6 separate regions of the Homo sapiens genome follow, and regions 2, 3, 4, 5 and 6 are each linked to region 1. The links are contacts of gene promoters, found by promoter capture Hi-C in human tissues and cell types (Jung and others, 2019). All regions are on one chromosome and are shown on one strand. The core of a region is centred on a gene start or on the middle of the fragment in contact, and the rest is flanking DNA. Distances in the headings are between cores, read along the strand shown.

Evidence for each region. Contacts are between HindIII fragments. The study calls those that stand out against the background at their distance.
Region 2: a contact is called between a fragment that was not itself captured here and the fragment with the promoter of SLC25A15 in region 1, in 1 of the 25 tissues and cell types used here (spleen).
Region 3: a contact is called between a fragment that was not itself captured here and the fragment with the promoter of SLC25A15 in region 1, in 1 of the 25 tissues and cell types used here (spleen).
Region 4: a fragment that was not itself captured here is called in contact with the fragment with the promoter of SLC25A15 in region 1 in 1 of the 25 tissues and cell types used here (spleen).
Region 5: a fragment that was not itself captured here is called in contact with the fragment with the promoter of SLC25A15 in region 1 in 3 of the 25 tissues and cell types used here (liver, mesendoderm cells and spleen).
Region 6: a fragment that was not itself captured here is called in contact with the fragment with the promoter of SLC25A15 in region 1 in 1 of the 25 tissues and cell types used here (thymus).

The regions. Positions count from the first base shown.
Region 1 is chr13:40,788,029-40,791,238 of GRCh38, reverse strand. SLC25A15 (solute carrier family 25 member 15) reads right to left here and starts at 1,628. Exons shown (of 7, transcript NM_014252.4): 1 at 1,576-1,628. RefSeq lists silencers at 52-346, 1,479-2,058. The HindIII fragment of the contact is 20,114 bases long and covers 1-3,210 here.
Region 2 is chr13:41,199,596-41,202,805 of GRCh38, reverse strand. The region is part of intron 3 of KBTBD6-DT (KBTBD6 divergent transcript); the gene reads right to left. It also overlaps the pseudogene MORF4L1P4. Among named protein-coding and RNA genes, the nearest start is that of KBTBD7, 6.6 kb to the right of the region's middle. The HindIII fragment of the contact is 5,217 bases long and covers 1-3,210 here.
Region 3 is chr13:40,411,825-40,415,034 of GRCh38, reverse strand. The region is part of intron 6 of LINC00598 (long intergenic non-protein coding RNA 598); the gene reads left to right. Among named protein-coding and RNA genes, the nearest start is that of LINC00598, 68 kb to the left of the region's middle. The HindIII fragment of the contact is 4,674 bases long and covers 1-3,210 here.
Region 4 is chr13:41,087,480-41,090,689 of GRCh38, reverse strand. No RefSeq gene overlaps it. Among named protein-coding and RNA genes, the nearest start is that of MIR3168, 12 kb to the left of the region's middle. The HindIII fragment of the contact is 7,858 bases long and covers 1-3,210 here.
Region 5 is chr13:40,490,483-40,493,692 of GRCh38, reverse strand. No RefSeq gene overlaps it. Among named protein-coding and RNA genes, the nearest start is that of LINC00598, 11 kb to the right of the region's middle. The HindIII fragment of the contact is 5,719 bases long and covers 1-3,210 here.
Region 6 is chr13:41,045,749-41,048,958 of GRCh38, reverse strand. It overlaps a transcript of ELF1 not described here. Among named protein-coding and RNA genes, the nearest start is that of TRE-TTC1-2, 13 kb to the left of the region's middle. The HindIII fragment of the contact is 3,143 bases long and covers 211-3,210 here.

The DNA of each region.
Region 1 (3,210 bases), core at 379-2,878:
TTCTCCAAGGCCACACAACTGTCAGTGACAGAGGATTCAGTTCAAAGTCCTGTCTTTTCAGGCCTGTGCCTACAAACCAACCGTTAATCTGAGTATTTCAACCTGGCCAAAGGCAACACAAAACACCCAACCCTATATTTTTGGGAAAGAAAAAAACGGGGGCAACTGAGCAGACAGACAGAGGCAAGTACAATGTGGCCTCCTAGATAAACCTCAATGCGCTTATTTCTTTTGGCACAGACACTTCCTTCTTAATTTTGAAGGAAAGTCACATCACATTACATTCTATCTGTCCCTAAGAATTAAACCCTGTTAGGTGAGCCAAACTTAAACACATTAAATTCTACAAATAGGCCAGGCACAGTGGCTCACGCCTGTAATCCCAGCACTTTGGGAGGCCAAGGCGGGCGGATCACCTGAGGTCGGGAGTTCGAGACCAGCCTGACCAACATGAGAAACCCCCGTCTCTATTAAAAATACAAAATTAGCCTGGCGTGGTGGGCCATGCTTGTAATCCCAGCTACTCGGGAGGCTGAGGGAGGAGAATAGCTTGAACCCAGGAGGCGGAGGTTGCGGTGAGCCGAGATCGCCCCATTGCACTCCAGCCTGGGCAACAAGAGCGAAACTCCGTCTCAAAAAAATAAACAAACAAATAAATTCTACAAATAGCCATTAGAATTATTAGGATAGAAAACGATGATGGGTACTAACAGATTCACTCAGAAGGAGTGGGCAGCTAATTCACATTATGTGTAGCTCTGGCTTGGAGAAGACACAGGGCTTGGAGGAGGCAAGACTGTTCAGCATGAATTAAAATTGATTTATGAGCTTGCTGTAGCACTTGGAATAGAAAAAAGAATCTTTTCAGCGCCTTTGACCCCTCTCTCAAATTACACCAGGGTGCAACTGAGGAACAACAGTGCCGACCACCCACTTTTCTCGACCCTTGGGGAAAATAACTTTTTTTTGGAAGGGAGAGTCAGTAGATGAGGCTGCATTTTCCACCAGGGAACACGAACTGCTGCGGGAAGATCCCAGCTTCTGGCTAAAGGAGCCGCAGGCCAGCTCGCCATCCAGTCCCCAGAGCCCGGGCTTTAGGTAAAGCGTGGAGATGCAAATCAGTTTCGCCGCCAAGGACCGGCCAGGCGCGTCTCCTCCCGGGCCTCGCAAGGAACAGGTCAGGGAGACGACTTCCAACTTTCTTGGCCGGACCCTAAACGTTCACCGCCCCTGCCCAGCCGCCCACTCCTGGGCAGCCAGCAAGTCTCCATTCACAAGCGGCTCCATGCTGCCCAGCACTGGCGCCCCTGAGGCGCGGAGCCCCGCAGCCAAATGACAGGACTTGGGGGCAAACAAGGACAAAAGTTCCCACCAGGTGGGCACTGCAGGAAGGAGGCCGACAACCCCGAGATTCTCCGAGTCCCGCGGCACGTGCGCTGCGACGCTGGCCGCTTCCCCCGCCGCTCGGGAAGGTCACGCCGCCCGCACACCGAGGCCCGCCCCGCGCCCCGCTCCCCGCTCCCTCTGCCTGGCGCGCTCCCCGCAGCTGCAGGCGCCAGACCGGGCTGCGCTCACCGCCGCGCCGGCGTGGCCGCGTCCAGCTCAGGCTCCGCCGCCCGCTCTCGGCTCCGGGTCGCCGGCTGGGGCGGCCACTTAACACCCACGTCGGCAACGGCCGGCCCTTCGCCCCTCCCTTCGCGCAGGCATCCCGGACTGCGGCCCCGCGAAGCTCAGGAGCGCCCCTGCGGCTGGCGGGCGGCCTGCCCAGGGCCGTGCCCGAGCCGAGACCGGGAGCCGCCACCGCCCACCGGCCCTGCCACCGCCCCCAGCACGGGAAGCGGAAGTGGGCGTGGGGCCGCGGCGCGCACAGCCAGCCCGCGACCCGGCGTGGTGCTGCCGCCGACCCTGGTGAAGGTGGAGAGCGGGGCCTGCGCCTCCGGAGACTTTCCCACCTCTGGGATCCCCGAGACCCTCTCTGAGGCCGGACCCTTGTTAGCCCGCTGGGCTGGGACTGGGGGCTGGGGGCTGGTAATGTCAGTGGTTGGGAGGACTTACTTTTTAGCTACTTTGACCTTGTTGGGAGGCTAAGGCCTTATTTATAAATTATATTTGAGTACAAAATTATACTCGGGATCCAAGGCCCTAATAGGAAATACAACTAAGTATGAAAATACAGGAATTAGCCGGGCATGGTGGCTCACGCCTGTAATCCCAGCACTGTGGGAGGCCGAGGTAGGCGGATCACCTGAGGTCAGGAGTCCAAGACCAGCCTGGCCAACATGGTGAAACCCCGTGTACTAAAATTACAAAAATTTATCCAGCGTGGTGGTGCGTGTCTGTAACCCCAGCTACTAGGGAGGCTGAGGCAGGAGAATCGCTTGAATCTGGGAGGTGAAGGTTGCAGTGAGCCAAGATTGCATCACTACACTCCAGCCTGGGCTACACAGCGAGACTCCGTTTCATAAAAACAAACAAACAACGACAAAAAAAAAAAGGTGTGGTGACACATGCCTCTATTCTTAGCTATTTGGGAGGCCAAGGCGGGAGGATCGCTTGAGGCCAGGAATTGGAGGCCGCAGTGAGCTATGATGGCACTGTTGCACTCCAGCCTGGATGACAGAGACCTCATCTCTCTCTCTCTCTCTCTCTCACCCACACACACACACACACACACACACACACACCCTCCACACAGTGTAATTTTATTTTACAACTTTAAGCCTTGTTTAGATGTGCTGTTGGATTATTATTTTTTTCTTTTTTTTTCTTTTTTTTTTTGAGACAGAGTCTCACTCTGTCACCCGAGCTGGAGTGCAATGGTGCAATCTCAGCTCACTGCAACCTCCCCCTCCTGGGTTCAAGCGATTCTCCTGCCTTAGCTTCCCAAGTAGCTGGGATTACAGGCATGCGCCACCACACCCAGCTAATTTTGTATTTTTTAGTAGAGACAGGGTTTCACCACCTTGGCCGGGCTGGTCTCGAACTCCTGACCTCAGGTGATCTGCCTGCCTCGGCCTCTCAAAGTGCTGGGATTACACGTGTGAGCCACCACGTCTGGATGTGCTATTGGATAATTACCTACGTTATTTAAGTGATTTAATTGGTGTTAGTGCTTAACATGAATGCACACTTGAGTAGACCTCCCAGGCTGTAGTAGATGCTATGATGGGATCAGAGTGCCTGGTACATGGACACTCATCAGAATCAGCA
Region 2 (3,210 bases), core at 501-3,000, 410 kb before region 1:
ATTCTTGTTAAAAATCTGAAAAGCCAAAATTTATTGTCTCATATGCATAACATCTTTAGAATATCAAGGAATAACAAACTTTATATCAAAGTATACTTTAGATATATTTTAAATTGAATATGAAATTGAGTCAAGCAACTTAGGATCAACAAACTACTACTGACAGTCAAAAAATAAAAGAAATTATTTTTTAAAGTGTGACTCATTTTGTGATGCACAATGGCAATTAGGGGCACTTGGGCTGGAGTTGGGGAAGTGGAGCCTCTGGGATGCTGATAATGTTCTATTTCTGACCTGAGTGGAGGTTACACAGGTGTATTTATTTTGTGATAATTCATTGCATTTACAATTTTTATTTGTCCCATTTTCTGTATATGTATGTATGCTATACTTCACCTTTTTTTTTTTTTTCCTGAGACAGGGTCTTGCTTTGTTGCCCAGGCTGAAGTGCAGTGGCATGATCCCAACTCACTGCAACCTCCATCTCTCAGGCTCAAGCAATCCTCCCACCTCAGCCTCCTGAGTAGCTGAGACTAGAGGCCTGTGCCACCATGTCCAGATAGTGTATGCTATACTTCAATACAAGTTTTTAAATAATAAAATTAAAAGTTAAGAGGCTGAGGTGGGATAATCACTTGAGTTCAGGAATTTGAGACCAGCCTGGGGAACATAATAAGACCCTATCTCTTAAAAAAGAAAAAAAAAAGATAGGCTGGGTGCAGTGGCTTACTCCCATAATCCCAGCACTTTGGGAGGCTGAGGTGGGCAGATCACGAGGTCAGGAGATGGAGACCATCCTGGCTAACACGGTGAAACGCTGTCTCTACTAAAAATACAAAAAAAAAAGAGAAAAAACTAGCTGGGCGTGGCGACAGGCACCTGTGGTCCCAGCTACTTGGGAGGCTGAGGCAGGAGAATGGCGTGAACCCGGGAGGCGGAGCTTGCACTGCACTACAGCCTGGGTGACAGAGCGAGACTCTGTCTCAAAAAAACAAACAAACAAACAAAAATGGTGTATAACAGGTCTGAAACAAGTTAGCTGCTATGAAATAAATGTGGAACGGAAGTCACGCCCCAAGGCAGCCCCCTCACTAGGTACCCTCCAACTGAGGTAGGGGAGGGTGGACCCATAAAAACTCTCCTGGCAGCCAATGACTAAAGGCAGTGGAGTTGTATTAGTCCATTTTGTGTTGCACATACCAGAATACCTGTAACTGGGTAACTTATAAAGAAAAGGAATTTGGCCAGGCGCGGTGGCTCACGCCTGTAATCCCAGTACTTTGGGAGGCCGAGACGGGCAGATCACTTGAGGCCAGGAGTTCGAGACCAGCCTGGTCAATATTGCCACATCTCTACTAAAAATACAAAAAATTAGCCGGGTGTGGTGGTGCACCCCTGTAATCCCAGCTACTCAGGAGGCTGAGACAGGACAATCACTTGAACCCTCAAGGTGGAGGTTGCAGTGAGCCAAGATCACACCACTACACTCCAGCCTGGGCGACAGAGCAAGGCTGTCTCAAAACAACAACAACAAGAAAAGGAATTTATTTCTTACCGTTCTGTAAGCTGAGAAATCAAGGTCAAGGGGTCATGTTTGGTGAGGGCCTTCTTGCTAGTGGGTAATTTGCAAAGTCCCGAGGCAGTACAAGGTATCACATGAGAGGGAGAGTTGAGCCTGCTAGCTCAGGTCTCTCCTCTTATAAAGCCACCAGTTCCTTTCCCCTGATAACTCATTAATCCATTAACCCATTATTCCATTAATCCATTAACCTGATAACCCATTAATCCATGGGTGGATTAATCTATTCATGAGGGCAGAGCCCTGTGATTCAATCACCCACTAAAGGACCCACCTCTCAATACTGCCACATTGGGGATTATGTTTCAACATCAGTTTTGGAGGGGACAATCCATAGCAGAAATCATTTTGAATACAGAAATAAAGGCGTTAACAGTTTGTAGACTCTACTTAAAAATCAAAGTAAAAACAATACTGAGGGGCCCAGGCTGTACAGCTGGCAGTGCCTGACAGCCTACCTGACGCTGAATTGGATGGGATACAGCATAGGGAGCAGTAGCTGGGTGAGGTAGGAGAAGGGAGTCGGGGTTATCACTTACAAATGGTACTGAAGCCTAAACTCTGAAGTGAGTAGGTGCTGTGCTTTTATGGGCCTCTTTATGAAGCAAATTATGTAAAAGTTGCCATCGAGGACAAACAAGTGAAATACTTTACACATTACGGTGGATTGGATGAAAATTGGAATGAATGGGCTCCAAAAAGTAGAGTACTCAGGTACATGAACACCAATCTGTAGAAACCGGGAGAACTTCGAGAAGCAAATCAGGAACAAAATTCATGGGGGAAGAGGAGAGAGGCTGCCCCAGCAAAGAAGACATCTGGTCTGCAAGGGAAAAATGTTGAAATCATGTGGAAATGGAAATGGAGCAGTACCAATGAGATACCTCAGCCTCCTCAGAAGAGCCCCAGTAGATGCCGCTGTTGAAAACATTCATGAAGAGAGTTGAAGTTAAAGATTTCTGAAGAATTAAAACCATGTTTTGTTGATGAGTGAGACATAATGACCAAACAAAAACAGCTTTATCTTCGTGCCAGGAAAAATGTGGATTCTATTGTAGAGAATTATGTAAATTACAAGAAAACTTGAGGGACCACAGATAATAAGGAGTATGTTTTTAATATGGTTGTGGCAAAAATGGAAAATATTTGAATATAATGTTAGGCACTCAGATACTTTACAAATCTGAAAGACTCCAGCATGCTGAAATCCTTGAAGATTACCCAGAGGCACTCAAGTTCCAGGGGTATGGAAGACCACATCTGTTGATATAATTTGTATGAATTGGACCAATGTTGACCCAAACACCTCTAGAGGAGAAGAACCTTGCTTTATGACTGAACTATCTTCATAATGACTTCCTGGTAAAGAATTCTGCAATTTTATTTAAAGCCAACAATTATGAAGTGGCTGTTCCTGAGAGGATAATTACAGTACGCAAAATGCACAGATGTGAAGAGTACAGTTTATTGAGTTTAGCAATTGCATTCACCCATGTAACCACCAGCCCGGTCTAGAAGAAAACATTTGCATCAGCCCTAGACATTTCCTCATGTTCCTTTCTAGTCAGTCTAGCAATTTGCCACCTCCCCACTACCCCTTACACAAGAGAGGAAGCCTCTATTATGATTTT
Region 3 (3,210 bases), core at 297-2,796, 380 kb after region 1:
GTGAGCAATGCCAATGGGACCAAACTGTGCCAGGCTCCATGAACGTGCTCTGAGCCCACTTCACTCAGTTCTTTCCTTTCGTGTGGCACTCAATCAGCTCATTGTTGAAATGTGCACTGTTCAAGTGGTAGACTTCTGTATCTGAGGAAATTCTGAGCTGAGATTAAGCTGCTGCATGATTTCAGCCCCCTTCAAATTTAATCTCTGCTCATAGTGCTATTTATTCTGCAAAATCATTTGTATATAGCACATTTTCCTCATTATATTCTCTATGAATCCAATTACACTAAGGCTGTTGATACAGGACCATGATCTTGGTTCATACTCATGACCAATGGATTGGTTAACTGAGAGTTTCTTTATCTCCTCTCCCCCTTCCCCAGCCCTCCAGCCTCAGATTAATATCTAGAAGCTTCTGGAAGACTGATAACAAAATGTTTTTGCAAAGAGAAAAGTTTGGTTATTTTTCTTGAGCTTTGGATAACCAAGTTTACTTATAGTCTGGCAAAGAATAACCATAGAAGGCACAGGCCTGGATGCTCAAATTCTTTCTCTTAAAAATGAATGTTTATATTGATCTGAATTAGAAGATACTGAGGGTGACGGAGTGGGATAGGCCACATAGGACCTGCTGTAAGGTAGGAGTCCTGTTCTTGTAGTAATTTAGAGAGAAGCAAAGAAAAGTGGCACATTGGAAGACAAGAGGAATCTTTTGCATATGATGCTGTGTCTTTTTCAGTCTTGTTTATCTCCTGGCCTTATTTTTATTTTTGTGGGAATTAAAGGTAGGTCATTTATACTGCAATGTATAGAGATGAATAATATTTGGGGTGCTTTTGAGTAGCATTTCTCTCTCTGAGATTTTTTGATGCATTTGGGTAAGTAAATCAAATATATTTCACTTATATAAAATTGGAACAAATTGAAAGCTAGGAGAGAAAATAAAATCAGTAAAGCCTTGGATTAATCAAGCCTCTAGATCCAACAATGAATATACAGGAAAACAAGAAACAGAGGAACGTGGTAAAAGACCATGGGACGAGGTTAGCAAAATCCAGATACGGGAAACTGGAAAGTTCTTCCTCTTTCTCCTCCTCCTTCTTTTTCTTCTTCTTCAACACCACCGCCACATGGCAAAAATGCATGAGGGAACCTGTAGTTTAAAACAATCTTAGTGATACAATAACCAATAGTAATGTATGGAACTTAGTTGTATCCCAATTCAAACAGTAAACTACATAAAAGATTATAAAGATAATTTTAGGACAATGAAGTACCAATGAACAGCCCTAATAATAGACTGTTGGCTCTAGTATCACTTCCCACTAAAAGGAACCAGTGCTCCTAGGAAATGTGGCCAATTTCAGGCATGATTTACAGTGTGCATATAGAAAATCTTGTCCTATTAGATAGCAAGGAAGGCATCAAAGACTACTAGGGTCATATTAGAAAAACTCAGAGCTAACTTGGCTAAAGATGGGGAAATCTGAGCATGAAAAAGAATTACTTCAGTGAATATAAATGGTTCAAATATGTTTAAATTTATGAGTTCATAATATTACTCTTAAAAGAAAAATGAATTGATCGCCACAGGAGGATGCCAAGGAACCAGCTTATTACTTGAAACTAATTGAGGAGAAAGAATCAAGCATCTACTCTGCCTTTCTAATATGAACTGTACCATCAGATAGCTAAGTAGAAGATGAAGAAAGTTTCTCATTATAGAAGGATTCCAACTAATAATTGAAGTGAGGAATATTACCATTTTGTAATCCCTAATGAAGTGATGGATCCAGTCATTGAACATGAATGAATAGTAATATCACAAAGCTAGTGGTAACGAAATGTTGTGCATCCCCCAGTGGAAAAATAGAAATCCTGTATGACATAGGCTTGACAAAAATACCTGAATATGATTAAGCCTCTAGCTCTAACTACCAATGTACAGGAAATACGGATGACAGAGAAACACGCTAAACTATACCACGGGGCTACAATCGCCAGAATCCAGACTGTGGGGACCTTTATAGGGCAAACAACACAGTTTCTTCAAAATGTATAGCAAGGAAAAAAGTAAGAAGTGGTAAAGGAACAATTAATATCAAAGAAAACCTAAAGGACGTCAATCAATTGCAATGTACAGATCTTTAAATTCCATTTTTAAAAAGTATCCTCATTTTTTTAAACTGTGAAAATATTTTTGACATTTATGAGTTAAGAAAATTTAAACATTGTATAAGGAATTATTACTGCGTTGCCTGTGATACTGGTACTGTAGTTATGTCAGAGTCTTTATCTTTCACGGATACATTTAAAATATTTACAGAAAGGACATAAAGTCTGGGATTTGCTTCAGAAGTGTAGAGGGATGGGGATGAGGCCAGAAAGACTAAGGGTTGATGATTGTTGGGGTCAAATGATGTACATATAAGAGATTATTGTGCTATTTTATCTACTCTGGTGTAGGTTCAAAATTCTGCATAATAAAAAGTTAAGAAAGAAAGATATGGACATGTGAATACCAACTCATGTTTAATTGTATTGAGTAGTTAATGTTATTTTTTAAGTATGTTAGTGGTAATTTGGATTTCCATATTTAAAAATATAAAATGATTTCTAAGGTTTGCTTCAAAATAATTAGTGCTGGGGGGTAAAATTGAAATAAAAGTAGCTACTATTGTATACATTTGAAAATTTCCTAAATTTAAGGTAACATACAAAAAAAAAGGCCAGGCTGCAATTGAAGAAAAAAATTAGGATTGCAGCAAAGAATAATGAATATAAAAATGCCTTATATTTATGACTAAATTGAATGAAAGCCAAGCATTTATTTTTATTATTAATATTTCTCATGCTAAAGTTTTTGGTCATTAAAAACAAAAACTTGGCCGGGCGTAGTGGCTCACGCTTGTAATCCCAGCACTTTGGGAGGCCGAGGCAGGTGGATCACCTGAGGTCAAGAGTTTGAGACCAGCCTGTCCAAGGTGGTGAAACCCTGTCTCTATTAAAAATACAAAGATTAGCCGGGCATGGTGGCACATGCCTGTAATCCCAGCTATTCAGGAGGCTGAGTCAGGAGAATTGCTTGAACCCGGGAGGCAGAAGTTGCAGTGAGCCAAGGTCATGCCTCTGCACTCCAGCTTGGGGTACAGAGTGAGACTCCATGTCAAAAAACAAACAAACAAACAAAAAACAAAACAAAAACCAAAA
Region 4 (3,210 bases), core at 504-3,003, 300 kb before region 1:
GTATGGATAAGTAAAATCAATGGCAACAATGTTCTAAGAGATGGGAGGAATTGTGAAGTGGTATAGGTATTTGAAAAAGGACTTAGATTTGCTGATTTAGATTGAAAACTCTAGGGTAACCACTAAAGAAATTTTAAGACCGGGCGTGGTAGCTCACACCTGTAATCCCAGCACTTTGGGAGGCCAAGGCGGGTGGATCATCTGAGGTCAGGAGTTCGAGACCAGCCTGGCCAACATGGTGAAACCGTCTCTACTAAAAAATACAAAAATTAGCTGGGTGTGGTGGCAGGTGCCTTAATCCCAGCTACTTGAGAGGCAGAGGCAGGAGAATCATTTGAACCCAGGAGGCGGAGGTTGCAGTGAGCCAAGATAAAGCCATGGCACTCAAACCTGGGGGACAAGAGTGACACTTCTCTCAAAGAAAAAAAAAAGGCCGGGCACCGTGGCTCACGCCTGTAATCCCAGCACTTTGGGAGGCCGAGGCGGGCGGATCACGAGGTCAGGAGATCGAGACCATCCTGGCTAACACGGTGAAAACCCATCTCTACTAAAAATACAAAAAGTTAGCCGGGCGTGGTGGCAGGCGCCTGTAGTCCCAGCTACTCGGGAGGCTGAGGCAGGAGAATGGCGTGAACCTGGGAGGTGGAGCTTGCAGTGAGCCAAGACTGCGCCACTGCACTCCAGCCTGGGCAACGAGCAAGACTCCGTCTCAAAAAAAAAAAAAAAAGAAATTTTAAAATGAGGCACAATTGATATGCTAAGAGAGGAGAGCAAATGGACTCATATAAAATACACTTCAATACTCTCTAATCAGTAATTGACAGATCCAACAGGCAGAAAGTCATAAGAACATAGTTAAACTGAATAGCACCATCAGTTAACTGGATCTAATTGATACTTTAAAGTACTTCATCTAACAACAGCAGAATACACATTCTTCTCAGATTCACGTTGGACATTTATCAAAATATGCCACATTCTGGGCTATGAAACACACCTTAACAAATTTCAAAGAATAGAAATCATATAAAGCATGCTTTCAGATCACAATGGAATTACATTAGAAATCCTAACAGAAAGCTGAAAATTCCCAAATATTTGGGAACTTCTAAATAACGCGTAGGTAAAAAAAGAAGTCTCAAGAAATTTTAAAATGTTCTGGATCAAACAAAAATGAAAATACAACTTAAGACTCGTGGGATGCAGTGAAAGCAGTCCTTAAAGGGAAATTTAAAGCATTGAATGAATGTGCTAGAAAAAAAGGAAAGACGTAAAATCAATCATTTAAACTTCTAACTTAGGAACTAGAGAAACAATAGAAACCTAAAACAAGCAGAAGAATAGAAAAAATTAGAGCAGAAATCAATGAAATTAAAAATAGGAAATCAAGAGCATGTCTACAAAACCAAAGCTTGTTCTTTGTAAAATTCAATCAAACTGATAAACCTCATGCAAGCTAACCATAAAAAAGAAACAAATTACTAATATTTTGTTAGCAATAAAAGAGAGGTCGTCAGTACTACCCATGGACATTAAAAGGACAATAAAGGAGTATTATAAACAACTCTATGCACACAAACTTGATAACTTAGATGAAATGGACCAATTCTTTGAGGCACCAATTACCAAAACTTATATGCGAAATAGATCCTCTGAATAGGTCTATATCTATTAATGAAATTGAATCAATAATTAGTAATCTTCCAAAAAAAAAAAAAAAGCACCAGACCATATGCTCCCCTGATGAATTTTACCAGTTAATGGGGATATATGATTCCCATTTATGTCACCCTTCTTTTAAAAAAAATTTTCATCATCCTTCTTTTAAAAAGATATTTTCTAAAGTTTGCTATAATTAGAATGTAATGTTTTCAGAGGTCAGGAGTTTGAGAACAGCCTAGCCAACATGGTGAAACCCTGTCTCCACTAAAAATACAAAAATTAGCCAAGCATGATGGTGCGTGCCTGTAGTCCCAGCTGCTTGGGAGGCTGGGGCAGGAGAATTGCTTGAACCCGGGAGGCTGAGGTTGCAGTGAGCTGAGATCATGCCACTGCACTCCAGCCTGGGGAAGAGTGAGACTTTCTCTCAAAAAACAAACAAACAAACAAACAAACAAAAAAGAATGTAATGTTTTCAATGTAGAAATAACCAATTAAAAGACAGATAAGTAGCCTGTTTTGAAAAATGAGATGCAAGTCTTAAATGCTAATAGATTTGATATATTGAGATTAGTGGAGAAGGGAAATTTGCGGAGGTTTACCATGGAAGATTATTCTGTTGGTTCTGTGAAGGATGAGCTAGAATAGCAAAAATTGGGAGTGCAGTAGTATTCTAGGCTTGAAGTGAAGATGGCTTAAACTAGGCTAGTGAGTTTACCATTAAAAAAAAAAGAGTACCAGGCTGGGCGCAGTGGCTCATGCATATAATCCCAGCATTTTTGGAGGCTGAGGCAGGAGGATCGCTTTAGCTCAGAAGTTCGAGACCAGCCTGGGCAACATAATGAGACACTCGTCTCTACAGACAAAAAAAAAAAAGAAGAAGAACCAGCCAGGTGTGGTGGCATGCCTGTTTGCCTGTAGTCCCAGTTACTTAGGAGGTGGAGGGAGGAAAATCACTTGAGCTCAGCAGGTCGAGGTTGCAGGGAGCTCTGATCACGCCTCTATACTCTGGCCTGGGTGAGAGTAAGATCCTGTCTCAAAAACAAAAAATATTGAATAAATACAGGAGGTTGGCAGAAATAAGTTTCTACAAACTCTTTTACGATTTTGTAAGGCAGAAGTGATGTTTATGATACAACGTGAAATTGAATGCTTTTTTTTTTGGTGGTAAAATATACATCAAATTAACTATATATATGCATACACATACATGCATATAAATATATATGTATGTGTAAAAATATAAAAATATATTTAATATAGATTTAATATCAATATATCTATCAATTTAATATTAACATTAATTTTAAATTTTTAATTTTAATATTATCAATATATATATATAATATAAATTATATATAATATATAAATATATATTATATATATTTATGTATTAAAACTATATATATATGTATTTTTTTTTGGTAGAGACAGGGTCTTGCTCTGTTGCCCAGGCTGGTCGTGAACTCCTAAGCTAAAGTGATCCTCCCACCTCAGCCTTCCCAAATGCTGGGATTACAGGCATGAGCCACTGTGCCTGGCCTTAACAAT
Region 5 (3,210 bases), core at 316-2,815, 300 kb after region 1:
CAGGCGTGGGCATCAGTTCGAGCCTGGGGAGTCTCAAGTGGTATAAGCAGTGTAAGGGGCTCACGATAGAAGGCATGGGGCAGGGATGAAGTCACTGTCCTGAGCTGGGCAGGTGCTCAGAAACGGCTCATTACATTCATGCATCAGACTAGATACTGCACTAGGGAGACCTGGGGCTGCAGTTAGCTGCTTACTAGCGGGGTGTCTTTAGGGAATCCATTTTACCACCTTATCCTTCAGTCTCCTCATTGGAAATGGGGAAGTTGGTGATACCTGTATTTCTTACCTCACCAGTCTAGGACCAGCTACATAGTTTGCCGGTTCCAGTACAAAATGAAAACATGGGACACTTTTTTCCAGCATGATTATTAAGACAGCAACAGCAGAGCATTAAACCAAGTGTGGGGTCCTTTTAAATGTAAAGTCCTAGGGAGGTTGCACACCCAAGAAGCTGCCCTGCACAAGATGGTGATAATGATCTCATGCAAAGCCATATAGCACAAGCATCATACATCTTCCGCTTGTGTGTTTCGTCATTTAATCTTAAAATGTTCTTTATTTTTATTTATTTACTTATTTTTGAGACGGAGTCTCTCGCTCTTTCACCCAGGCTGGAGTGCAGCGGCACGATCTCGGCTCACTGCAACCTCCGCCTCCCGGGTTCAAGCAATTCTCGTGCCTCAGCCTCTGGAGTAGCTGGGATTACAGGCGCTGCCACCATGCCTGGCTAATTTTTGTGTTTTTAGTAGAAGCGGGGTTTTGCCATGTTGGCCAGGCTGGTCTCAAACTCCTGATCTTAGGGGATCTGCCTGCCTCGGCCTCCCAAATTGTTGGGATTACAGGCGTGAGCCACTGGGTCCAGCCAAAATGTTCTTTAAAAGAAGGAAACTTGGCTGACACTCCGTGGAGAGGTGATATTCAGCCGATGTGCCCTGGGACAGGCTGGCCTATTGTCACATCCCTCGGAGTTGGCCGGCACCCATGCTGTTGAGATTGTGAAGCAGTTTCCAGCATCAGCCCCATGCAACACTCATCAGAGTGAAAGACAAGGGTTTCTGCTGCCTCTTGTTCTGTTCTGGCCTTCACCATGCTCAGAGGGAAGCTCCATGAGGGGACCCTGCAGGAAGTTCAAGAACGTGGCTGGGACCACAGCCTTGCGAGGTCCGTGCCTGACTGCCACCTGCCCCCACAGGCTCACCCGGCAGCCCTCCCTGGGGACCAGCATCTGGGAGGGGCTCTCCAGTGGCACCACTTGGCTCTCAGGGAAGGGAATCTGTGTTGGTCCATTTGTGTTGCTATAAAGGAATACCTGAGACTGGGTAATTTATAAAGAAAACAGATTTATTTGGCTCATGGTTCTGCAGGCTGTACATAAAGCCTGGTACCAGCATCTGCTTCTGGTGGGGGCCTCAGGAAGCTTCTGCTCATGGCAGACGGTGAAGGGGGAGCAGGCCCATGACATGGCAAGAGCAAGAGCAAGAGCAAGGGAGGGAGGAGGCGGCAGTCTCCTTTACCCAGCTAGATCTCACATGAACTCATAGCGAGAACTCACTCAATCCTGTGAGGACGGCGCCAAGCCATTCATGAAGGATCCGCCCCTACTATCCTAACACCTCTCACCAGGCCCATCCCCAACACTGGAGGTCATGTTTCAACAGGAGATTTGTAGGAGACACACATCCGAGCTATATAAGAATTCATTCCCCTGCAGAAGGGAGGGTGGCCTTTTCATCTTGAATACAAAACAAATCATTTCTACTCTACCTTCTTTTCTCACTTGAGCCCATCCAAAACTCATGATTAGGTCATCTCATTGTCCACTCGCCTAGTCCACTGCTGGACTAAGCACTGTCCTTTTCACAGGCTTCTGTCTCAGTGACAGTCTGTGACCCCCAGGGGCTGCTGTATCAATTTCTTGATCAGAAGGGGCTCTGGAAGTTCCCTTGCTTCTAGATCTTCTCTCTCCTTGCTTCTCCTTCTTATGCTCCTGGCGTCGAGGACTTATGCCAGGTTGTCTGGAGGCCCCATCTTGCTCCTGTTCCTTCTTGCCTCCCTGCAAACATATTTTGGAGTCTGGAAAAGTGTTCTTCAGTACCACAGAGCCAGTCATACCCCTACCCAACTCCCACCAACTCCCCACTTTCTGGTAAAGCTTCTCCCTAACTTTCTTCTGAGAAGTCCCTGTTAGCCACCAATGGTCTATTAGCTGACAGAATGGCCTGTAGAAGGGGAAGGAGGAAGAAGGGAGAGAAGGAGGAAAGGAACACCACCTATCCAAGGAAATTCAAGATAACTGCATTCCTCCCCTCTGAAATAATGAAGGGAGCATGTGTCTCATAATTCAGGGCAGTTCCTTCTCTTATGAGTGGCCGGCATTCCAGATCCTAAGGCAGCCGCTTGGAAATCAATACACTTTGCAAAGAAATGTTATTATGCCTCATGCTTCTCAACCCAGCCCACAGAAGCATTTTTACGATGTGGACCTGAAGCACTCCACCAATCAACCAGGTTCACAACCCCCAAACCCCTGTAACGCGGTCTCTGTGATATACTGATGAAAGCTGTGTTACATTTTGGGGTACTGGTGACAGCTAGCAGAGGGGATACCATCCTCCAGGGTGTAGCAGTTTGCATACCTAAAGATGCTTCTACCTTCTGGAAGATGCCTCCCCAGCTATGAACATCCTCATAAAGACAGTGCCTTTTTGGGGGCATACACATCCCAACGGGCAAAATATGCCCAGTGGAGGTGAAGGCTGGACTCCAAACCCAGGCTCTCCTGTGGCCCTTTGCTCACAAGAGTGTTAGAGCATCATTATTATATATATATATTTTTTTCTCAGAGAGCCCATTTTGTATGCATTCTCTGCAGCTGCAGACCTCAAGGACTTGACTGTTTTTATAATGATGATGAATAAAAGCAAAGTCTTTGAAGAAAAAAGTTCATTTTGATTTTTCAAGACAAGTCAGCAGCAGCCCCAGAGACTTTGTAGTCCTTTTTGCCCTGTGCTGCCTGCTTGGAGCTTCACATTCATGTGTTGTTTGCTGTAACTGAAAAATGCCTCAGTCTCTGGAAAGCTAAGTGGATGCAAATGGATTTGGAATTGTCAGCTTGAAACAGTCTCCAGTGGCCGGGAGCCCCAAGACAACTTTGATGGCCCTGACAGAGCCGCCCTTGTAGCTCCTCAGGAAAGCCGGCTGCCTGGCATG
Region 6 (3,210 bases), core at 533-3,032, 260 kb before region 1:
TAGTTAGATTTAGTGGCATAATAGGGGCAGAATTAAGTTAGATTAGGCTGGTTGAAGAATGAGCGGGAGATGAAGAAATGAGTAGGTGAGGACAGTATATACACATCTTTTGAGGAAGTTTGGCTGTGAAAAGCAGGGAGTGAGAATGAATAGTAGTTGTAGTTGGGGTTGCGGTGTGTGACAGGGTGCCAATTCAGGTTCTTTTTTTTTTTTTAAAGGAAAAACTTGAATTAAAAAAATACCTTCGGCTAGGCGTAGTAGCTCACAACTGTAATCCCAGCACTTTAGCAGGCTGAGGTGGGCGGATTGCTTGAGCCTAGAATTTTAGACTAGCTGGGGTAACATACTGGTATCCTGTCACTATAAAATATTAAAAAATTAGCTGGGCTTGGTGGTGTGCCCATAATCCCAGCTACTCGGGAGGCTGAGGTGAGATCACTCGAGCCCTGGAGGTCAAGGCTGCAGTAAGCTGTGTTTGTACCACTGCACTCCAGCCTGAGTGACAGATGGAGACCTTGTCTCAAAGAAAAGACTGTAGGCAGTTCCAAGATGGCCAAATAAGAACAGCTCCAGTCTACAGCTCTCAGCGTGAGTGACGCAGAAGACGGGTGATTTCTGCATTTCCAACTGAGGTACCGGGTTCATCTCACTGGGGCTTGTCGGACAGTGTGTGCAAGACAGTGGGTGCAGGCCACCGAGCGTGAGCCGAAGCAGGGCGAGGCATCGCCTCACCTGGAAGCGCAAGGGGTCAGGGAATTCCCTTTCCTAGCCAAGAGAAGCTGTGACAGAAGGCACCTAGAAAATCGGGTCACTCCCACCCTAATACTGTGCTTTTCCAACGGTCTTAGCAAATGGCACACCAGGAGATTATATCCTGTACCTGGCTTGGAGGGCCTCATGCCCACAGACCCTCGCTCATTGCTAACACAGCAGTCTGAGATCGAACTGCAAGGTGGCAGTGAGGCTGGGGAAGGGGCACCCGCCATTGCTGAGGCTTGAGTAGGTAAACAAAGTGGCCTGAAGCTCGAACTGGGTGGAGCCCATTGCAGCTCAAGGAGGCCTGCCTGCCTCTGTAGACTCCACCTCTGGGGGCAGGGCATAGCCAAACAAAAGGCAGCAGAAACCTCTGCAGACTTAAATGTCCCTGTCTGACAGCTTTGAAGAGAGTAGTGGTTTTCCCAGCACAGAGTTTGAGATCTGAGAACAGTCAGACTGCCTCCTCAAGTGGGTCCCTGACCCCCAAGTAGCCTAACTGGGAGGCACCCCTAGTAGGGGCAGACTGACACCTCACACGGCCAGGTACCCCTCTGAGATGAAGCTTCCAGAGGAATGATCAGGCAGCAACATTTGCTGTTCAGCAATATTCTCTGTTCTGCAGCCTCTGCTGCTGATACCCGGGCACACAGGGTCTGGAATGGACCTCCAGCAAACTCCAACAGACCTGCAGCCTGAGGGTCCTGACCCTTAGAAGGAAAACTAACAAACAGAAAGGACATCCACACCAAAAGCCCATCTGTACGTCACCATCATCAAAGACCAAAGGTAGATAAAACCACAAAGATGGGGAAAAAACAGAGCAGAAAAACCAAGAATTCTAAAAATCAGAGCACTTCTCCCCCTCCAAAGGAATGCAGCTCCTCGCCAGCAACGGAACAAAGCTGGACGGAGAATGACTTTGACGAGTTGAGAGAAGAAGGCTTCAGACGATCAAACTTCTCTGAGCTAAAGCAGGAAGTTTGAACCCATGGCAAAGAAGCTAAAAACCTTGAAAAAAGATTAGACAAATGGCTACCTAGAATAACCAGTGTAGAGAAGTCCTTAAACGACCTGATGGAGCTGAAAACCATGGCAGGAGAACTACGTGACGAATGCACAAGCTTCAGTAGCCGATTTGATCAACTGGAAGAAAGGGTATCAGTGATTGAAGATCAAATAAATGAAGCGAGAAGAGAAGTTTAGAGAAAAAAGTAAAAAGAAACGAACAAAGCCTCCAAGAAATGTGGGACTATGTGAAAAGACCAAATCTGCGTCTCATTGGTGTACCTGAAAGTGACGGGGAGAATGGAACCAAGTTGGAAAACACTCTTCAGGATATAATCCAGGAGAACTCCCCCAATCTGGCAAGGCAGGCCAACATTCAAATTTGGGAAATACAGAGAACACCACAAAGATACTCCTTGAGAAGAGCAACTCTAAGACACATAATCGTCAGATTCACCAAAGTTGAAATGAAGGAAAAACTGTTAAGGGCAGCCAGAGAAAAAGGTCGGGTTACCCACAGAGGGAAGCCCATCAGACTAACAGCAGATCTCTCAGCAGAAACTCTACAAGCCAGAAGAGAGTGGGGGCCGATATTCAACATTATTAAAGAAAAGAGTTTTCAACCCAGAATTTCATATCCAGCCAAACTAAGCTTCATAAGTGAAGGAGAAATAAAATCCTTTACAGACAAGCAAATGCTGAGAGATTTTGTCACCACCAGGCCTGCGCTGCAAGAGCTCCTGAAGGAAGCACTAAACATGGAAAGGAACAACTGGTACCAGCCACTGCAAAAACATGCCAAATTGTAGAGACCATTGATGCTAGGAAGAAACTGCATCAACTAACAAGCAAAATAACCAACTAACATAGTAATGACAGGATCAAATTCACACATAACAATATTAACCTTAAATGTAAATGGGCTAAATGCTCCAATTAAAAGACACAGATTGGCAAATTGGGTAAAGAGTCAAGACCCATCAGTGTGCTGTATTCAGGAGACCCATCTCATGTGCAGAGACACACATAGGCTCAAAATAAAGGGATGGAGGAAGATCTACTAAGCAAATGGAAAACAAAAAAAGGTAGGGGTTGTAATCCTAGTCTCTGATAGAACAGACTTTAAACCAGCAAAGATCAAAAGAGACAAAGAAGGCCATTACATAATGGTAAAGGGATCAATTCAACAAGAAGAGCTAACTATCCTAAATATATATGCACCCAATACAGGAGCCCCCAGATTCATGAAGCAAGTCCTTAGAGACCTATAGAGAGACTTAGACTCCCACACAATAATAATGGGAGACTTTAGCACCCCACTGTCAACATTAGACAGATCAATGAGTCAGAAAGTTAATAAGGAAGGATATCCAGGAATTGAACTCAGCTCTGCACCAAGTGGACCTAATAGACATCTACAGAACTCTCCACCCCAAATCAACAGAATAT